Linked DNA regions of Homo sapiens: all the other regions are linked to region 4. Evidence: promoter capture Hi-C in 16 types of primary human blood cells and fetal thymus (Javierre and others, 2016). All regions are on one chromosome and are shown on one strand. Each heading gives the region's core, a stretch centred on a gene start or on the middle of the fragment in contact. The rest is flanking DNA. Distances are from core to core; before and after follow the strand shown.

Evidence for each region. The method cuts DNA at HindIII sites, captures the fragments that hold promoters and counts their contacts. A CHiCAGO score of 5 or more calls a contact.
Region 1: the fragment with the promoter of RFC1 here is called in contact with the fragment with the promoter of TLR10 in region 4 in 3 of 17 cell types (total B cells, naive CD8 T cells and erythroblasts); the score reaches 9.7 in total B cells.
Region 2: a contact is called between a fragment that was not itself captured here and the fragment with the promoter of TLR10 in region 4, in 7 of 17 cell types (naive CD4 T cells, activated CD4 T cells, naive CD8 T cells and 4 more). The highest score is 6.1, in naive CD4 T cells.
Region 3: a fragment that was not itself captured here is called in contact with the fragment with the promoter of TLR10 in region 4 in 3 of 17 cell types (endothelial precursors, total CD8 T cells and erythroblasts); the score reaches 5.4 in endothelial precursors.
Region 5: a fragment that was not itself captured here is called in contact with the fragment with the promoter of TLR10 in region 4 in 5 of 17 cell types (naive CD8 T cells, naive CD4 T cells, total CD8 T cells and 2 more); the score reaches 7.6 in naive CD8 T cells.

Annotation. Positions count from the first base shown.
Region 1 is chr4:39,364,546-39,368,027 of GRCh38, reverse strand. RFC1 (replication factor C subunit 1) reads left to right here and starts at 1,666. Exons shown (of 25, transcript NM_002913.5): 1 at 1,666-1,789. The coding sequence starts at 1,787. RefSeq lists an enhancer at 1,625-1,744. The HindIII fragment of the contact is 1,173 bases long and covers 1,002-2,174 here.
Region 2 is chr4:38,197,508-38,200,940 of GRCh38, reverse strand. No RefSeq gene overlaps it. Among named protein-coding and RNA genes, the nearest start is that of LINC02513, 170 kb to the left of the region's middle. The HindIII fragment of the contact is 6,971 bases long and covers 1-3,433 here.
Region 3 is chr4:38,149,281-38,152,743 of GRCh38, reverse strand. No RefSeq gene overlaps it. Among named protein-coding and RNA genes, the nearest start is that of PTTG2, 190 kb to the right of the region's middle. The HindIII fragment of the contact is 3,669 bases long and covers 344-3,463 here.
Region 4 is chr4:38,781,440-38,784,969 of GRCh38, reverse strand. It overlaps TLR10 (toll like receptor 10), which reads left to right and starts at 1,980. Exons shown (of 4, transcript NM_030956.4): 1 at 1,980-2,049. RefSeq lists enhancers at 2,659-2,828, 2,891-3,100. The HindIII fragment of the contact is 660 bases long and covers 1,948-2,607 here.
Region 5 is chr4:38,130,120-38,133,692 of GRCh38, reverse strand. It overlaps TBC1D1 (TBC1 domain family member 1), which reads right to left. Exons shown (of 22, transcript NM_001396959.1): 21 at 436-609. Among named protein-coding and RNA genes, the nearest start is that of PTTG2, 170 kb to the right of the region's middle. RefSeq lists a silencer at 616-755. The HindIII fragment of the contact is 2,765 bases long and covers 578-3,342 here.

The sequences.
Region 1 (3,482 bases), core at 417-2,916, 580 kb before region 4:
ACATGCATGGTGCCTGGTGGAGATGGCTATAAGGCTGGTCTCAGATGACCACCTCCCTGGCTTTACATGGTGCTCCAAGAGAGCAAGACAGGAGCTGCCAGTCTTCTTAAAGCTTAGGTCTGGAGTTGGCATAGTATCACTTCCATTGTATTCTTTGATCAAATCAGTCATAGGCCAGTCCAGGTTCAAGGGAGGAGTTTCAAAGCATATGCAGTCATTTTAGATCTGGTATATTTCTGAGATAGAGTATTTTCATGTAAATAAATATTCCTAAAGAAAACAATCTCACAAAGAAGTTACAGTCTCCTGACTTAAGTCTCATTTAAACTCAAGGAAGGCTTCAAATGCCAAAAAAAAAAAAAAGCAAAAGTTAAGAGGAATGTAATATAAAAGACACGTACAACTTTTTATGTCTTATTTACTCATTTATTGATTTATAACACAATGAACATTATAAATTGGTGTAGGTCCTCTAAAATTATGGGCAAAAATTTGTGTGATATGTCTGCTAAGACAAAACCGAGGCACAGTAACTTGCCCTTGGTCACATAAATAGCAGGTGGTGGGGCTGGAGACCTAGCATCCTGGCTTCAGAGGGAACAGTGCAGTGAGGCCCTGTTAATAAGTAACAGTCTGTCTGTAAATTCGGGATAAGAGTAGTCAGTGTCATCATGGGGATAAAATGAGCTAGGCTAGTCCAGAGCTGCACGTACAACAATAGGCGTTTAATAAATACAAGCTGTCAATGCTCAGCCTCTGTTGTATTCCAGGCTGTTCTATCTTTCGCCATAGAAATGTTGGTGTCATAAAGCGCAAGACCCAACAGGGGGTGGATGGGTGAGAATTTCAAAAGTGTAGCTAGAGCCAAAGCTGGAGATACTGCTTTCTCCATTGAACTCTTTATGGTCTAATCTTTCTCTTGAAATCGTACGCAAATGTTTCATTGTATTCCGTGATTCAATTGCTAATCTATTCATATACAACTGGTTTACCCCAAAGCTTTCGGTATCTTTTCTTTTTTTTGAGGCGGAGTTTCGCTCTGTCGCCCAGGCTAAAGGGCAGTAGCTCGATCTCGGCTCACTGCACCACTGCCTCCTGGGTTCAAGCAATTCTCCTGTCTCAGTCTCCCGAGTAGCTGGGACTACAGGCACACGTCACCACCCCCTGGCTAATTTTTGTATTTTTAGTAGAGACGGGGTTTCACCACATTGGTCAGGTGGTCTCGAACTCCTGACCTCAGGTGACCCACCCGCCTCGGCCTCCCAAAGTGCTGGGATTAGAGGGGTGAGCCACCGCGTCCGGCCTCTTGATGAAACCTTATTACAGAATAGATATTTATACATAATATGTAAAACGCACAGCTAAAACATTTATCTTACTAAAGTTGGTAGTAAAAACTTTTCAAAGTTACTATAGGGAAGTGCATTGTCCAGACGTGTAACCGGGAGGTACTTGGGTACCCCGCCTGCCAAGGAAACCAATATCGGATCCCCCTACTTTAGCGCCCCCGCCAAAAACCGAGCTCACACCAAAGCACCGTGGTTCCTCTCGATGTCAGCGGCCCGCCTGCCCTCGGGGCAGCACCTGGGCAGGCGTCGCACCTCCCGCCTCTGGGCGGGACGGAAGCAAAGCTCGCGCCTCCTGACGTCATCACCGCGCGCCACTGTCTTCGCCTTCTTGCACTTCGCGGGAGAAGTTGTTGGCGCGAATGGATCCTGAGCCTCGATAACAGATTCCTCAACCGGCCCACCCGCCAGCCAGCCAGCGCCTTCATCCTGGGGCTGCGATGGTGAGCCGCTGGGGGAGGCCGTGCGGCTCGGGGTCTGGGGGGGCTTTGCAGGCCTGGTGTGGACCGGGCACTCCTGGTATGCAGGGTGGGGGAGGATGGCGGTGGGTGGTTCCGGAGGCTAGCAAAGGCAGAGAAGGGGCCGCACACCGGGCACTGGACGCAAAACTTTCATTGCATCGCGGGCTCTGGCTCTGGGCGGCAGCCAGCGCGCAGGGATTTTGTTGCTACGTGTACTTGCACTTTCCCCCCGCCCCCCACTCTTGGGGGAAGGGAGAAAGGAAGAGAGGAAGGATGGTGGTTTTGGGACGCATTGGTAAAGTTATTTTCTTGTTCGGCGTTGCCCGAACCTCAGTTTGAGTACTGCCTAAAGCGTGGATTTCAAGCTTTGGGTCACGAGGGAGAAGAATGTAACAAACTTTTCTTTCTTAGGGAATATGTTGTGTAGGGCCTTAAACTTTTATCATTAACAGCTCAGCTCGTCTCATCTCCGCTCGTCATTAACGATCACCTGAGCGGTGTTGAGACCGAGGGCATGGAGAGGATATTTTATTTTGTTTAGATGAGTTCATAGGAGTCAAAAGGATAACATGGCTTACTAGGAAAAAGAAGTACAGCGAATAGAAACAGATGCAAGACATTTGACAGCTGTCATCCTCTTACCACCTGATGTTTAAAATCTGAAAAAAACCCAAGCCTCACTGCATAATTCTGGATAAAATGTTCAAACAAATTGAAAGTGAAATGATTATGCAGCCAGCAAAGCAGACATTCCTGATGGTATGGCAATGGATATGGCTCTGTGTTTGAAATATTTTTAAAGGACCATTTAAAATGTTCATTAAGCTAGAAGATACTTAACAATCCGATATAATTTTTTTCAATCATTGGTCAACGTGTCACAGTGACAACATTCTGGGGGGGGGCGGTGAAAATTTTATGCCACACTGGGAAACGTTGCAGGCCTTTGTGTTTCTTCTCAAAAAAGGGCAACAGTAATGATAGTAGCTACCTTGTACCAAGCATCTTCTTTAGGTCAATATGTGAACTGTTGGTTTTCCATGGTTTTTTTTTTTTTTTTTTTTTTTCATTTCAACCCACATCGATGCAGTTTTACAGATGGTGCAAGCACCTTTTTGGAATTTAAACAGTGTATCATATAACTAGTAGGTGGTTGAACTAGAATTAGAATCTTGGTGTTTCTGACCACCATGTTATACTACTTCCCTATAATGATCATCATTACATTTTGGAGGCCAAAGCACTGTGGTATTTTGGAAGCTTGAGACTTGGAGTCTTGAAGATGAAGAACGTGGTAATATTTTAGTTTAATGGTTTATATATTAATTTATAGTTATATTACTATGTTAGTATAGTCTAGTTTAATAGTTACGTGGTCTTGGGCAAGTAAATAGCTTAAGTTTAATCTCTTTAAGCCTCTGTTTCCTTATCTGTAAAAGAGGGGAAAATAATAGCTGCCATAGTGATTGTTTTGGGGATTAAGCAAGATGTATAGGTAAAGCTTCCGTTCTGGTTCTGGTGCCTGGCATGTTAGGCAACTACACAGCTACCAGTGATCTATTTTCTCAGAAAGGACTCTATGGAAAGTTACATAGATTTTAAGAGGCATGGTAGATTCCTCTGTCATTTATGGTGAACATAGCTTGTGTGGTCAACTTTTGATCATTCAGGTGCT
Region 2 (3,433 bases), core at 238-2,737, 580 kb after region 4:
TTTGGGAGGCCGAGGCAGGCAGATCACCTGAGGTCAGGAATTCGAGACCAGCCTGCCCAACATGGTGAAAGCCCATCTCTACTAAAAATACAAAAAATAGCCGGGCTTGGTGGTGCACACCTGTAATTCCAGCTACTCAGGAGGCTGAGGCAGGAGAATTGCTTGAACCCGGGAGGCAAAGGTTTCAGTGAGCAGAGATCACGCCACTGCACTCCAGCCTAAGCAACAGAGCGAGACTCAGTCTCAAAAAAAAAAAAAAGCAGGGGGAGAAAAGAAAAGTACTCATTCAATTGTTCATTCAGTCAGTCATCCACTCAATTCAACTAAGAATTGTTGAGAATCTACTCCGTGCCAGGTGCTGGGTATATGGGGTGAAAACAATAGAATCATCTGTATCCTTGCGGAGCTGACAGCCTGGGGAGAAAGACAGACACGGAACAAGACAACAGACAAATGGATACATAATGGCAAACAGTGATTGGCTATGAAGGATACAAGGTGTAGTTACAAAGAATGAAGGGGGAAAGGACACTGTGGATACAACATGGTGAGAAACGGCTCCCTGAAGAGTTGATGTTCAAGCTGAGAGTTGAAAGACGAGAAGGAACTAGACCTGCGAAGAGTCAGGCTGGAGATGGAGGGAGGAAAGATCACTTCAAGGAGAAGGAATTAGTTTATCTGCAAGGGCCCTGAGCTGGGAAAGAATCTAGAGGGTTTGAGGAACTGAAATGCACCTGCTTAATGGCAGCAGAGTGTGATAAGTGGGGAGAATGGCATGAGAGGGACTTGGAAGGTTAGGCTTAGAGTCTTGGATATTCCTACACCCATGGGTGAACTATGGCAAGTAAACAAAATGAACTTGAAATCTTCATGGAAGAGCCAAATCCACAATTTGGTGGAATGGGATTTGTTCTTTCAACAGGTATTCCCAAAGTGCCTACTTGTTCCAGGATTGGTATATGGAAAGAAGGGATGGTAAACAGAGGAAAAGGATCTGACTGATGGGAAGGCCCATCAGTCACTGTCCAGAAAGCTGTTTGTTTGCTTGGGTAGCTAAGGAAGGAATATGGTGGAGAGTGTCTGGTGGAGAAGTTCAGGCATCAGTGTAGTCCTGCAATGGTCTGGTTTTGGATCTTGGAAGCAGGAAGGGGAGAAACATACTGCACACATATATGTCTCTGCGTGTGGTGGGAACGGGGGTGGCCAGGGATGGGAGAGAGAGCAAGAGCAGTGCAAAATCAAACACAAGCCCCCAAGAAAGCAGGCAGACTGGAGAAAGGAAAATAAAGACACGCTCACACCCACACCACAAGCAATCCTATGACTCTTGGCAGTACAGGCAGATGAGGGTGCAGGTGCAAGGATGGCTGTCACGGGAAGGGAGCAAAATGTATTGTGTGGGGCTCAATCTGTGTAGCTCACTGGGCAGAAGATGTCCCTATGACCTCACACAACAAACACGAGAGCTGCTAAGTCACCCATTAGATTTAAGGGAATCAAGTCCACTGTGGCCTGGACAAGACTCCATGTTTTAAAAGTCTCTTAAAGCCTAAAGTCACGGCACAAAGCTCTCTGAACTCCCCAAGTTCAGACAGTTCCACAAAGGAGCCCCCAAGCATCCCAGCTCCTGGAGCTGCCCACCCTGGCATCATTTCCTTTCTCTTGGGAGCCTCCCCAAGAGAGCAGAGAGAAAATACACTCAATCCTCCCATTGCAGGGCTTTTTAGAGACTCTGTGCGAAACCAAAGAAAGTGAGAGATTTGGTGAATGTGGCCGTAACTCATTCACACAAGCTCCCTGCCTCCACACGGAGCACAGTGAGTTGACAAACCATTTACCGACTCAATTTGGATAAACCTTAAGCTGAAATAAGACATTTTCTATGCCCTTTAGGAAGCAGTTCCAGTGTCTCTGACAAGTTCTAATTAGAAATATGTATCAACAATATTAATGAAAATTTCGGAAGAAAAGTCCCTCCTCCATAATCTTACCAACTTCACGCCACCTCCCCCCACCAACATTTTTCATTTTCCCACATCTTTCTAGAACCTGTTCGCATGGGTAAGTGGCTTCCCCTGCTGCAGCCGTCTCTGGGTAGCATTCAACTCCCTCTTCCTTGTCATCGTAGCACACATTGCTACACCGTGCCACTCCTCCTACACTCCTGTGCTTTATAATCTCCATTGTCACTATCTTGAAGAAGACCCCACATTTGTTTTTTTCCTCTAAATAATTATCTGCTCCTTTAGTGGTTATGAGGCCAAGTTTTACAGTCAGACAGGCAGGCCTGGGGTCAAACCCTCACTTCGCCGTTTACCATCTGGGCAACTTTGGGAGAACTGGCTTCTCATTGTCAGTTTTCTCGTCAGTGAAAAGGGGACAGTGACCACTGCCTCCTAGAATGGCTGTGAGGTCTACACTGAGATACTAAATATAAACCAAGCATGGAGACTGGCACATAGGAAGGGTTTAACAAATGGAAGCTATTTTGTTAATACTATCATTTCTTCTTATTTATTCTCCTTTGGAAATTCAAAACAGGATATGGCGTAGCACAAGGTAATCTGGGAGTGTAAGTTTCTTATAAGTTTCTTAGCAACAGATAAGGCCAGTCGTCCCCCTCACTGGGAAGAAGGGCCAGTAGGTTGTAGGGAAGGTGTCCCCTTCCAGTCAGGCCCAGACAGTGTCCAGGCACTCAAACCACACTCTTCTGCTCCCCATCCTATCTTCCAAACAGGGAATGACCTGCCCAAAGCCCATCACTATTCCCTTGGGTTGATACATCACTCTCTTTTGTAAAACTAAGTTAAAACATTTTAGGGACATCAAAGCACTAATCAGTCCCCTGAAGCAAAAACATTTACCAAAGCACCTCTGGCCAGGCTAAAAGAATTAATGCAGCTTAGAAAAAGCAGCTTTTTAAGCCAAGCGCAGCGGCTCACGCCTGTAATCCCAGCACTTTGGGAGGCCAAGGCAGGCAGACCACTTGAGGTGAGGAGTTTGAGACCAGCCTGGCCAACATGGCAAAACCCTGTCCCTACTAAAAATACAGAAAAATTAGCTGGGTGTGGTGGGACACGCCTGTAGTCCCAGCTACTCCAGAGGCTGAGGCAGGAGAATCGCTTGAACCTGGGAGGTGGAGGTTGCAGTGAGCTGAGATCGTACCATTGCCCTCCAGCCTGGGTGACAGAGCAAGATTCCATCTCAAAAAAAAGAAAAACAAAAAGCAGCTTTTTTACAGACAGGAGGCACTCCCCTGGTAGGTGTGTTTCGTGTTTAAGGATACTGCATTCCTAAAGGCCCTGATGCACGTGAACCCTTAAGCCTAATTTAAGGGTAAATGTTCTTCTTAATGTACTCAAAGGTATTTGCTACCTAAAGAGAGCAAGTTATATATGTTAAAAAGAAAAAAAGGCCAATATGGCAGTTACTA
Region 3 (3,463 bases), core at 929-3,428, 630 kb after region 4:
TGTTTGTACAGCCTGCAGAACTGTGAGCCAATTAAACCTCCTTAGTTGATAAATTATCTAGTTTCAGGTATTTTGTTATAGCAATGCAAGAACAGACTAACACAAGTGGGATCTAGGCTCAAACCACGGCACTTCTCTCTGGTCTTCTAGGCAGTCCCTTCATGTTTGCATGTTAGTCTTGGGGTGGAATGTATTATGGCTACTGTGAATAAAACACAAGAAGCATTTGCCTGCAAAGAACAGCAGGACACTGGAACACTGAACAGCTCTGCTTTCAAACCTCTCTGTCAGAGGAGGTTGATTTCTTCACTTCCCTCCAAGCTCTCACAGATGTAGTGAAGCTTTTGAAAGGAGCCTCCCAGGGAAAGGGGTCTGATGGGGTAAGAAACAGAAAAAAATAATAATAAAAGGGGAGACTCTTGGGGCCACCAGCTGTAGGAACACTGGCAGCCTTGTCATGCAGCCTCAGGAACTGGGAAATCTTCCTAGGCTTCCAAAGTGTCTGTAGTATTTTCGGGTTTGTGGCCTTTGAATGCTTTGTGGACCTCTGCATATGAGAAATAGTTTCCAAATATATTACACGAAAAATATTTTCTTTTGGTGCTTTGAGTTCATTTCTGATCCTACCGGTGATCCTACGGAGGCACTTTCTGACTAATGAAGTGTTTGTGGTAGCAGCCGCACTCAGCCCCACTAAACCACAGGATTATGATTCCTGCCTTGTGCATAGAATGCTAGAACTTTCTGGAAAACCTTGGAAAGGGCCAAGATGTGACTTTGTGGCTGGTGCCTACCAGTCCTGAAGCCAAGGAGGTGTCCTATGGTTTCTTGCATGTCCCCACCCTGCCGGGGTGGCTGGTTCCATTTCTGGAACAGCTTTGGAGCCTTCCCAAGCCTGGAATTGGCTACCTTTCCCAGGTGTTCACTCCTCCATGTTGACTGCCCATAATGCACAGACCACTGATACGATCTGGCTGTGTCCCCACCCAAATCTCATCTTGAACTGTAATCCCCATAATCCCCATGTCTAGGGAGAGACCTGAGGGGAAGTGATTGAATCATGGGGGCTTTTCCCCCGATGCTGTTCTTGTGGTAGTGAGTGAGTTCTCTGGAGACCTGATTGTTTTATAAGGCAGTTTTCCCTGCTCTTGCTCATACTTTCTCTCTCACCTGCCACCATGTAAGACGTGCCTTTGCTTCTCCTTCACCTTCTGCCATGATTGTAAGTTTCCTGAGGCATCCCCAGTCATGCAGAACTGTGAGTCAATAAAACCTCTTTCCTTTATAAATTACCCAGTCTCAGGTAGTATCTTTATAGCAGTGTGAAAAAGGAATAATACAACCACCAAGCTAGTTACCAAGAGGATTTAGAGACTGGGCAATATGAGAAATCATGACATTTGCTCCAGGGGAAGGTATGGAGATAGGCTGAACCAAATAACATCTTCTGGCCAACCTGTCTTGAGTGAAGCCCTGTTCTCAGGGAGGTACCAGTTGTCTCAGAATTGAGCCAGCAGGCAAAGCTGGGCCTCCCTGGTTTTGTCTTGGCTACTATTATGTCCACCAAAAAAAGACCACATGGATGCCTGGCCTCAGAAGATACAATTTTCCAGAGAAATTGTTAGAATGCACTGCGTTGAAAAATAATTTGTTTCTTCTTATCACCATAAAATCTCAAAAATTAAAATGCTAAGGAAATGAGGTTCTTCTGATAGCTGACCTTTTCTGGCTAAAAGGAAACTATTTTTATTTTCACCAGTGATGCTGAAAATCTCTGTCTCATGAATCAATGCCTGGGCCTGCTTTTAATCATCCAGGACACTGCTGGGCTGCAGGGCGCTGTAAGTCCAGATGATGTAGTCTGTAGACATGCAACACGTAAGCCACTGAGTCAAACCCGATTTCCAGCCTGCTGCTGGTCGCTGGTATCTTGTTTCTCTTTGGTTTTAATCAGACCCTTTCTATGTGCAATATTTTGTTATAGTGTATTCCCTTTCCCTAAAAATCAAAGCATAAAAATTCAATTTGAGGACCCAAGTTAACTGGGTTCCACTTGAGGAATGGCTGTAGCTGCAGCAAAATGTTTTGGCTCACACTTAGCGCCTGACCACATTTTGACTATGGGATGACTTTAGCATTCACTTGGCAAGGGCATTTCCATTTGGCTCCCCGTGAAGTCATAGAAATTCTAGTTATTTCTGCAGTGTGTGATTGCCTGGTTTATTTATAAGAACCATCCATCAGGATTGAGCTGTTCTTTCGTCTGGAGCCACTTGTATTATCACAATTATGAAATGTTTATTTTCTTAGATCAGCTTGAGCTGATAAAGCACTTTTGAGCCATTAAGAATCTTGTAAGTCAAGATAGTTTAGATAAGGATATGATTTTTTTCTGGGGGGCTAAATCAGATGAATCTATGGCCTCTCCCTTGATTGGGCTATCACGTTAAATGGGTGTGACCATCACACACTCCTCTGAGAGGTGGGGTCCCCTCCTTAGAAGGATTTGCAGCCAGACCCCCTTGTTTCCTCTGGCTCACATCCCAGCTGGGAAGTGCAGCTTCAAGGAACCTGGGGAGATGAGGCCACCCCAGCGAGGCAGAGGCGAGTGATGAATGTTCCAGGCCCGCAAGGCCTATTTGCAACCACACTGGGCACAAGAAGCTCAAAGAAAATATTCCATATTAATGAGGGTTGAGCAGGCTCATGGATTTACATTCTAAACACCAATCTGGCAGCGTCTGTCAAAAATGAAAGATGCACTTTCATTTGTTTACTGAATATCTGATTGCCTCTTATGTCCAAGTGCTGCCCAAGATATAACAACAGTGAGGAAGTAAGACCCTTTCCTCACAAATCTTACTTTCCTGTGGCAGGGACAGACAGATAAGCAACCAAACATGGACTATACTGTCAGAGAGCAGTAATTAGCATGGACAGGGCTGGATAGAGAGTACAGGGCAGAGGGGGCAGGGGCTGCCTATTAGACAAGGTGAGACCACAGTGAAGTGAGGAAACAAACCAAATGTCTGACCAGGACAGGAGCTTCCAAAGCAGATGGAGCAATGAGTGCAGATGCCCTGAGAGGGAGCATGGGGGTTGTCAGCAGAGCAGAGGCCAGAGAGTTGCAGTAAGTGAGGAGGAGAGGTAGGAAGCAAGGTCTGAGAGCAAGGAGGGGTGGGGGCAGATCTTGGCAGAGCCTTTCAGCAGAGACTGTGAACTGTCTCTAATATCCACATTCCCTTCTTCCCTTTGTAATAAAATCCCCCCATCTTTTTTTTTTTTTTTCCTGAGACGGAGTCTCGCTCTGTTGCCCAGGCTGGCAATCGAGTGCAGTGGCGCGATCTCGGCTCACTGCAACCTCCGCCTCCCAGATTCAAGTGATTCTCCTGCCTCACCCTCCCGAGTAGCTGGGACCACAGGCGCCCACCACCATGCCCGGCTAATTTTTGTATTTTTAGTA
Region 4 (3,530 bases), core at 731-3,230:
ATGTTTAAATTGATCATTCCTCCTGTAGACAAATCCATCTGGAAATTTTCTTCTTTACTCGTGATCTCCAGCAGTCACCTAAATCTTAAGTCAAGTATGAAAAAAACCTCAAAAATGTTGCTTTAAAAATTGATCCGTACTTTGCGATCTACATTTTAAAAAATACCATGCTTATTTTACCACTTCACTTCAAGAAAAGGCCTCTAGGTCAGAGGTCTCCAATCTTTTTGGCACCAGGACCAATTTCATGGAAGACAGTTTTTCCACAGACCGGGTTTGGAGATGGAGGAGAGATGGTTTCGGGATGATTCAAGCACATTACATTTATTGTGCACTTTATTTCTATTATTATGACATTGTAATATATAATGAAATAATTATACAACTCACCATAATGTAGAATCAGTGGAAGCCCTGAGCCTGTTTTCCTGCAACTAGATGGTCCCATCTGACATGATGGGAAGCAGTGACAGATCATCAGACATTAGATTCTCATAAGGAGCACGCAACCTAGATCCCTCCCATATGCAGCTCACAGTAGGGTCCAAGCTCCTATGAGAATCTAATGCTGCCACTGATATGACAGGGTGTGGAGCTCAGGTGGTAATGCAAGCGATGGGGAGCGACTGTAAATACAGATGAAGCTTCATTTGCTTACCCACCACTCACCTCCTGCTGTGTGGCTCGGTTCCTAACAGGCCATGAACTGGTACCTGTCTGTGGCCCAGGGGTTGGGGACCACTGCTCTAGATAACTCCTTTCCACCCTCTTCCTGCCTGATTGCTGAAATTATGGAGTCACCATTCCTACTCCTGCCCATCATCACATGACTGCCCCACCCAACTGATGAAAGGGATAACCGACCTGCACCTTGAAGAAAAGCATCATCAAAGAGCTCTAAGATGCTGTGGAAAACCAGTATGGTAGTTCTGCAAAAAATTAAACAGAATGGTCATACGATCCGTGAATTCCACTTCTAGGTATAGACTCAAAAGAATGTTAAGTACCAACTTAAATAGATATTTGTGCACCACGTTCACAGCAGCATTATTCACAAGAGCCAAAAGGTGAAAACTACCCAAATGTCCATTGATGGATGAATGAATGAACAAAATGTGGGACGTACATACAACAAAATAGTATTCAGCCTTAAAAAAGGAAGGAAAGATTCTATTATTCTATGTAATAATAATAGAAATGATATGGATGAACCTTAAAGACATTATGCTCAATGAAATAAGCCAGTCACAAAAAACCAAATATGGTATAACTCCACGGACATGAGGTACCTAGAGTAGTCAAATTCACACAGACAGAAAGTAGAATTATAGTTTCCAGGGTCTGAGGGAAGGGGAAAATGGGAAATTATTTTTTAATGGCATAGAATTTCAGTTTGGGATGACGAAAAATCTTTGGAGATGGGCAGTGGTGGTGGTTGCACAACAGTGTGAATGTACTTAATTAATGCCACTAAATTGTACATTTAAAAATGCTTAAGGTCAGGCGCGGTGGCTCACACCGTAATCCTAGCACTTTGGGAGGCCGAGACAGGCAGATCACTTGAGCTCAGGAGTTCAAGACCAGCCTGGGCAACTGGCGAAACCCCGTCTCTACAAAAAATACAAAAAACTTAGCCAGGCCAGTTGGTGAGCGCCTGTAGTCCCAGACATTTGCGGGACTGAGAAGCCCAGCCTCTTGCGGGCTTTAGCGCAAGAGGTCAAGGCTGCAGTGAGCAGTGATCACACCACTGCACTCCAGCCTGGGTGACAAAGTGAGACCCTACCTCAAAAAAAATAAAAATAAAAATAAAAATAGAAAGATGGTGAGCATGATAACTCCTATGTTATGTGTATTTGACCACAATTTAAAAAAGTGCTAAGATTATAATGAATATATATAACATGCAATACCAGTAGCATGCAGAAGAGGGCGGATGGGGTTTAAGCTTTACAGAAAACCTCGATTCAATTCCCTCCTGCAGCCAATTCTGACCGTGTCAACGAATCATCCACGCACCTGCAGCTCTGCTGAGAGAGTGCAAGCCGTGGGGTAAGAACCTTAGCTTTGTTTGTTGTAACTCTCATTAAAAAGATATAAGGGCTGCATGGGTATTTTCTAAAAAGGAGATAATTTGAGCTAATATTGAGGGGAGGGAAGTAGGGTTATTTAGATTTTTAGTATTTACTATTTTGTCTAGATTAATGATTAGTGACCTTGGGGCTATTGATCTGAGGAATTTCTTGCAGATGCTTGAGAGCGTGGGTTTCTTTTCACTGATTGCGGATCAAACCTGGTCAGCTCTTCTATTCAGATTGAACGGTCCTATGCACTGTGGCAAGTTTTTTCTAGCTCTTATTTCCCCACAGCGTATGTTAACCTCTGCTGGATGAAACCTTTGGCTATTTAAGGCATATTTGTTGCTCCTTTACCCCGTTGAAAAGTTCTGCATTTGTGTTACCTGTTTAAAAGTAGGGGCAGATCTGATGGATCTTGTACAATGCAGTTCTTATTCCGTTTCCTTCAGAAGTGGACAAAGAGGGCCATATGTGGTTGCTGTAAAGAAGAGGATGGTTAACAACCTGTGAGCATTTGGTTTCTTGATAAGCTTTCTCCCAGACCACCTACACTGAGCTATTAATTAGGAATAGGATGCACTTCGAGTTTTATTTCAATTCTTGTGAACTTATAACTTTCCTAAGAATATATTTATACATGTAGGCAAAGTCTCTTGAACTTTGTGGCACCTAGCAGAGTGTCCCACAGCAGCTGCATGAAGCTTCATAGACAGGGGCATGGGGTGAGAAAGGAGGAAGTGGCCGCCATGGCAGCTGGTCAGATCAATGGATTCAACCTCAGTGATTCGGTCCTTAGGATGTCGTTACATCTTAAGCCACCTCATTTCAAGGTTTGAGGTGCCTTGCATTTGGGTTTAGTTACCATCCAGAAGGAACCAGACAGGTCTGGGTTCAAATCTCTGCTTCTTCAGTTGGTCATCTTGGGCAAGTTACTTTACCTCTGGGCTTTAGCTCCTCCATCTGTAAAATATGAATAATAATGGCCGCCATTTTGTTGAGTCATTGAGGGATTAAACAAGGTAATGGACATAAAACACTTAGCTCCATGTCAGACACGTAGGAAATACTGAAAAGAAGTCATTCTTACTCTTATGTTGCAAAGATCATTCAACATTCAATAGGTTCTTAATCTCTTTTCTATTTCTTTATATCATTGGGAAAAGATAAATTAGATGATTAAATATTCTTTGGTAAAACACTAGTTGTCATTTGATGATGTCTTTTGACTTGGACTTTTAAATTATAAGATATTAAAGATGTATTAAGGAAGGTCATTCTCTGTTTTTTACCTGCTTTTAACGTAGTAGTAGGGATATGATATTAACATATATATACTATTTATAGACTACATCACCAACATGGTGAAACCCCATCTCTACTAAAAATACAAAAATTAGCCGGGTGTGATGGCAGGTGCCTGTAATCCCAGCTACTCAGGAGGCTGCGGCAGGAGAA
Region 5 (3,573 bases), core at 711-3,210, 650 kb after region 4:
TCTCTTCTGGTTTGTTATATTTATTTCTGTGTTACTTTCCTCCTTTACCATCCCTCTGTGGACCTAGCTGGTTTTGCTCATAGAAGTTAAAAGCTCTTAGATTCTCTTTGAGTAATGACAACGGCTGGCATTCAGCTAACAGGCCACGGCATCCTGAATCCAAGTTCATCTCTGGGCCTGTCCCCTAAAAGAGTTAAGTGCAGAAACAGCCTCTCAGAAAGCTCTGGGACTGCCTGACCTTAGCAAAGGACAATCTGTCTGCTCCATAATAAAAAGGACCCATTCTCCCGGGATACCTTTGATCCCAACTATAAACAGATCAGGGTGGGAAAGGTCCTCTGGTCATGGGAAAGCCCAGCCTGCTGTTGCCTTTGGTGAGTTAATGAACTACCATATATTTGTGATTCAGGAAGCTGCTTTATAAATATGCTCTACCTGCAACTGTTCAAGGAGGTCAAGGTTCTGTTTGCGTAAGCTGCTGTTGGTTTTCTCTAATTTATCCATTCTTTGGTTGTCACTGAGAGGAGAGGAATCGATAAGTTCTTCTTGAAGGACGTGGTACTCAACTTCATAAGCTTGTAACTGTTTAGCGATGTCCATTTCAAATACCTGTTATAGAAAGAAAAGTCATCACGTACTAAAACTGAGAAAAACCCCACAAGTACAGGCAGGCGTCTGCAATCACGACAATGCGCACCTGTGAAGCGTCTCCTCTACGCTTAGCTCTACACTTGGTACTAGAAGTAATAAATAAGAAAAACTACGCACTGAGAAGGTAATAATTTTACTTGGGACAAAAGGATATAAGAAACATCTAGAAATAATTCCAAGGTAACATTAAGTACAGGTTTTTGATACTCACCTTCCAAAAGCCAAAAAAAAAAAAAAAACCTCTCATTTTTAAAGACATAAAAATTTATTTTTAGTTCTTATTTCACTTCTTTTCTCTGAAAATTCTGTTAGGTTAGATACATCAACTATGGGTTAAAAGGAGAAAAGAAACAAAAGAATCATAGCCTGTTTGCAGAGTCACCAAGTCAAAGTTTAATTATAGTTCAGTTGGGTTTTCAGAGTTACAAGAACAGCTAAGTAATGGGACTGTTTACTAAAAAACTCTCCTTTGCACACAAATATGCAGAAATGAGCCAAAACCCACATGTCACCCACACAGATGAGTGAATACGAAACGATGCCTGAGTTGTCTTCTTTCCCACAATAGTAATGGTGACGAAAACACCACACGTGTGAAAAACAACTCCTAAGTGCCTAAGTGACTCAAGCCGTCCGTGTCTGTACTTTCTCTTGGTAAGGAAGGCAGGGCGGAAAGCAGAATCAGAAGACAGCTGCTGCTGCTGCTGCCCAAGGCATTTCCTTTCTTTCCAGTTGTTTCTATGAGAGAACCCCAGGGGCTGGGGCCTCTCAGCACAGCAGTGAAGCCCTAACGTTTATCTGATGGATCTGAGAATGCAGTCAAGCTGGGACCATCTTAAAAGAAAAAAAAAAAAAACCCTGCTAGATCAGAACACACATTCAGAAAGTGAAGTCAGGCTTTAAAAGGGCAGAAACTGCCTCTCTATTGCATTGCCTTAAGCAACTCCAATATTGTTAAAAATCAGTGTAAAACTACTTCTTCTGATGGCTCCCTACTGGCATTCAAACTAGCCTATCTTCCCTGGAATCAATTTTCAAAAACCATGTTTCCTTTCTCACCATTCCCAACAATCTTATTTTCTCTTCCTTGAGATGAATTTTTCAGCTTGCTGTTTTTGATTCAGTGGATAATATTAATAAGGCACAAAAGTCATTTGATGCCTAAAAACTAAAATCCATTATATCTGTGGGGTGTGTGTGCATGTGTGCGAGGGGAGTAAGAGGGAGAGAGAGAATTGTTTACTGGATTGAACTGATTCTCTTTTGTCCTTCAGAGCGACCGTGAGGTCAGCAGGGATTATTATCTCCATTTGACAGCCGAGGTAACTGGCTCAGAGGCTTTGAGTCAGCCTTAAAATTGCGGCTCCACTGGCGACTCTATGAATGACTTGAGCTCGGTACTTAACCTCTCTCAGCCACAGTTCCTGGCCTCCCACCTGGGGCAGACAGCGCCTACCTCCCAGGATGGCTGTGAGAATTAAACGAGGCAACTCCTGGAAGTTCCCAGCACACGCCTGGCAGGTTGAGCAGGCGCTCTCTTAGCTAAGGGATCTGCTTCCACACACCTGCCACAAAACCCTCACATTTCAACCTCAGCAAAACCATCATCAATGGATGCCACGTCATGGAACTTCTGAATAGTCTGAACAGTAAAAACCACAAATGTTAAAACTGAGATTGTTTGGCACTCATGTATAATTATAAATATGGTGCTGAATAAATGTCATGTACACTATTACTTTTTTTCTTTCACAAAGATTTAAGTGATCTCCTAACCTGGAAAGCCTGGGAACAAAACCTCTGGCTTTTCCTACGGATTGATGTTCTGTGTTAAGTTAATGGCTCTCAGCAGTACCCAAAGCCATAAACTCTTCCAGGCCTCCATTAATCCCTAGGAACCACCCTGGGTCACAATCATCTCTGCTTAATTGCCTGATGATCTCCTGACTGCCAAGACTCCTAGGCCCTTCATTCTGCAGTTATGCCCCTGAATTTACCCCAAACCATGGCAATATGAGGCTGGTGGTCAAAGGAGAACCCTGGTCACTGAACGAGGGCTTCAGCCCTTGGGCTAATTACTTGGGGAAAGAAAAGAATTGGGAGGGGCGCCTGTCCTTGCACACTTAGACAGCACAAGTGATCCACTGCCAGGAGCAGTTCTCAGCCAGAGAAAGAGCAGGAAGGCCTAACATTAAAAACCCAATCCTTTGGTATGTTGTCTCAGATGAATAAAACAGACGAATATTAAAAACTAGGTGTTGATAGGAAAACAAGATATATACACTTTAAGGTGTTTTCATTTCTGGTCTGAGTCACTCCTGAGGCTGGACAAGTGCAGTGCCCACCTCCCCCAGGGTCTTGCCTAAGCCGTTCCCTGAGCACTGGTCACTACACAAAGCTGCAAGGTACCTGGCCCCTCTGCAAGGGGGACTGGCTCTCATCTTCTTTCTTGCTGGCCCATCTCAGAGCAATTCCACTAGAGTTGTAATTACTGGGGATCTAGAGCCTTCCTGTCATCCTGGCTCTTAGGTTCTTCATAGTTTTCAGTCAAGTTCCAGAATTTTGGTACTGAAGAAAATTTCTCTTCTGTTTGCCAAAGTAGGAATGACTATTTCCATACTTTCGATGTTTTGCCGAAAAGATAAAACTATTTTAAGTTACTGAAGCAATAGAGCTACATTATTGGAAGCTTGAAAAATAAAAGAAAAATCACCAAATACAACTTTTATATCTAGCTATATTTCCTATTTCCTAAAAGCATGTTTTTCTAGTTCTAAACATAACCAACATAAAATTTCCTATCCCACTTTTCCTTTACTTAACATTGTATCAAATAAGAGCTTTTTCATGTCGCTATATATAACTGGCTTCATGATATTCTACCAGCTCAACCTACCATCATCATATTAATCCAGTCATCAA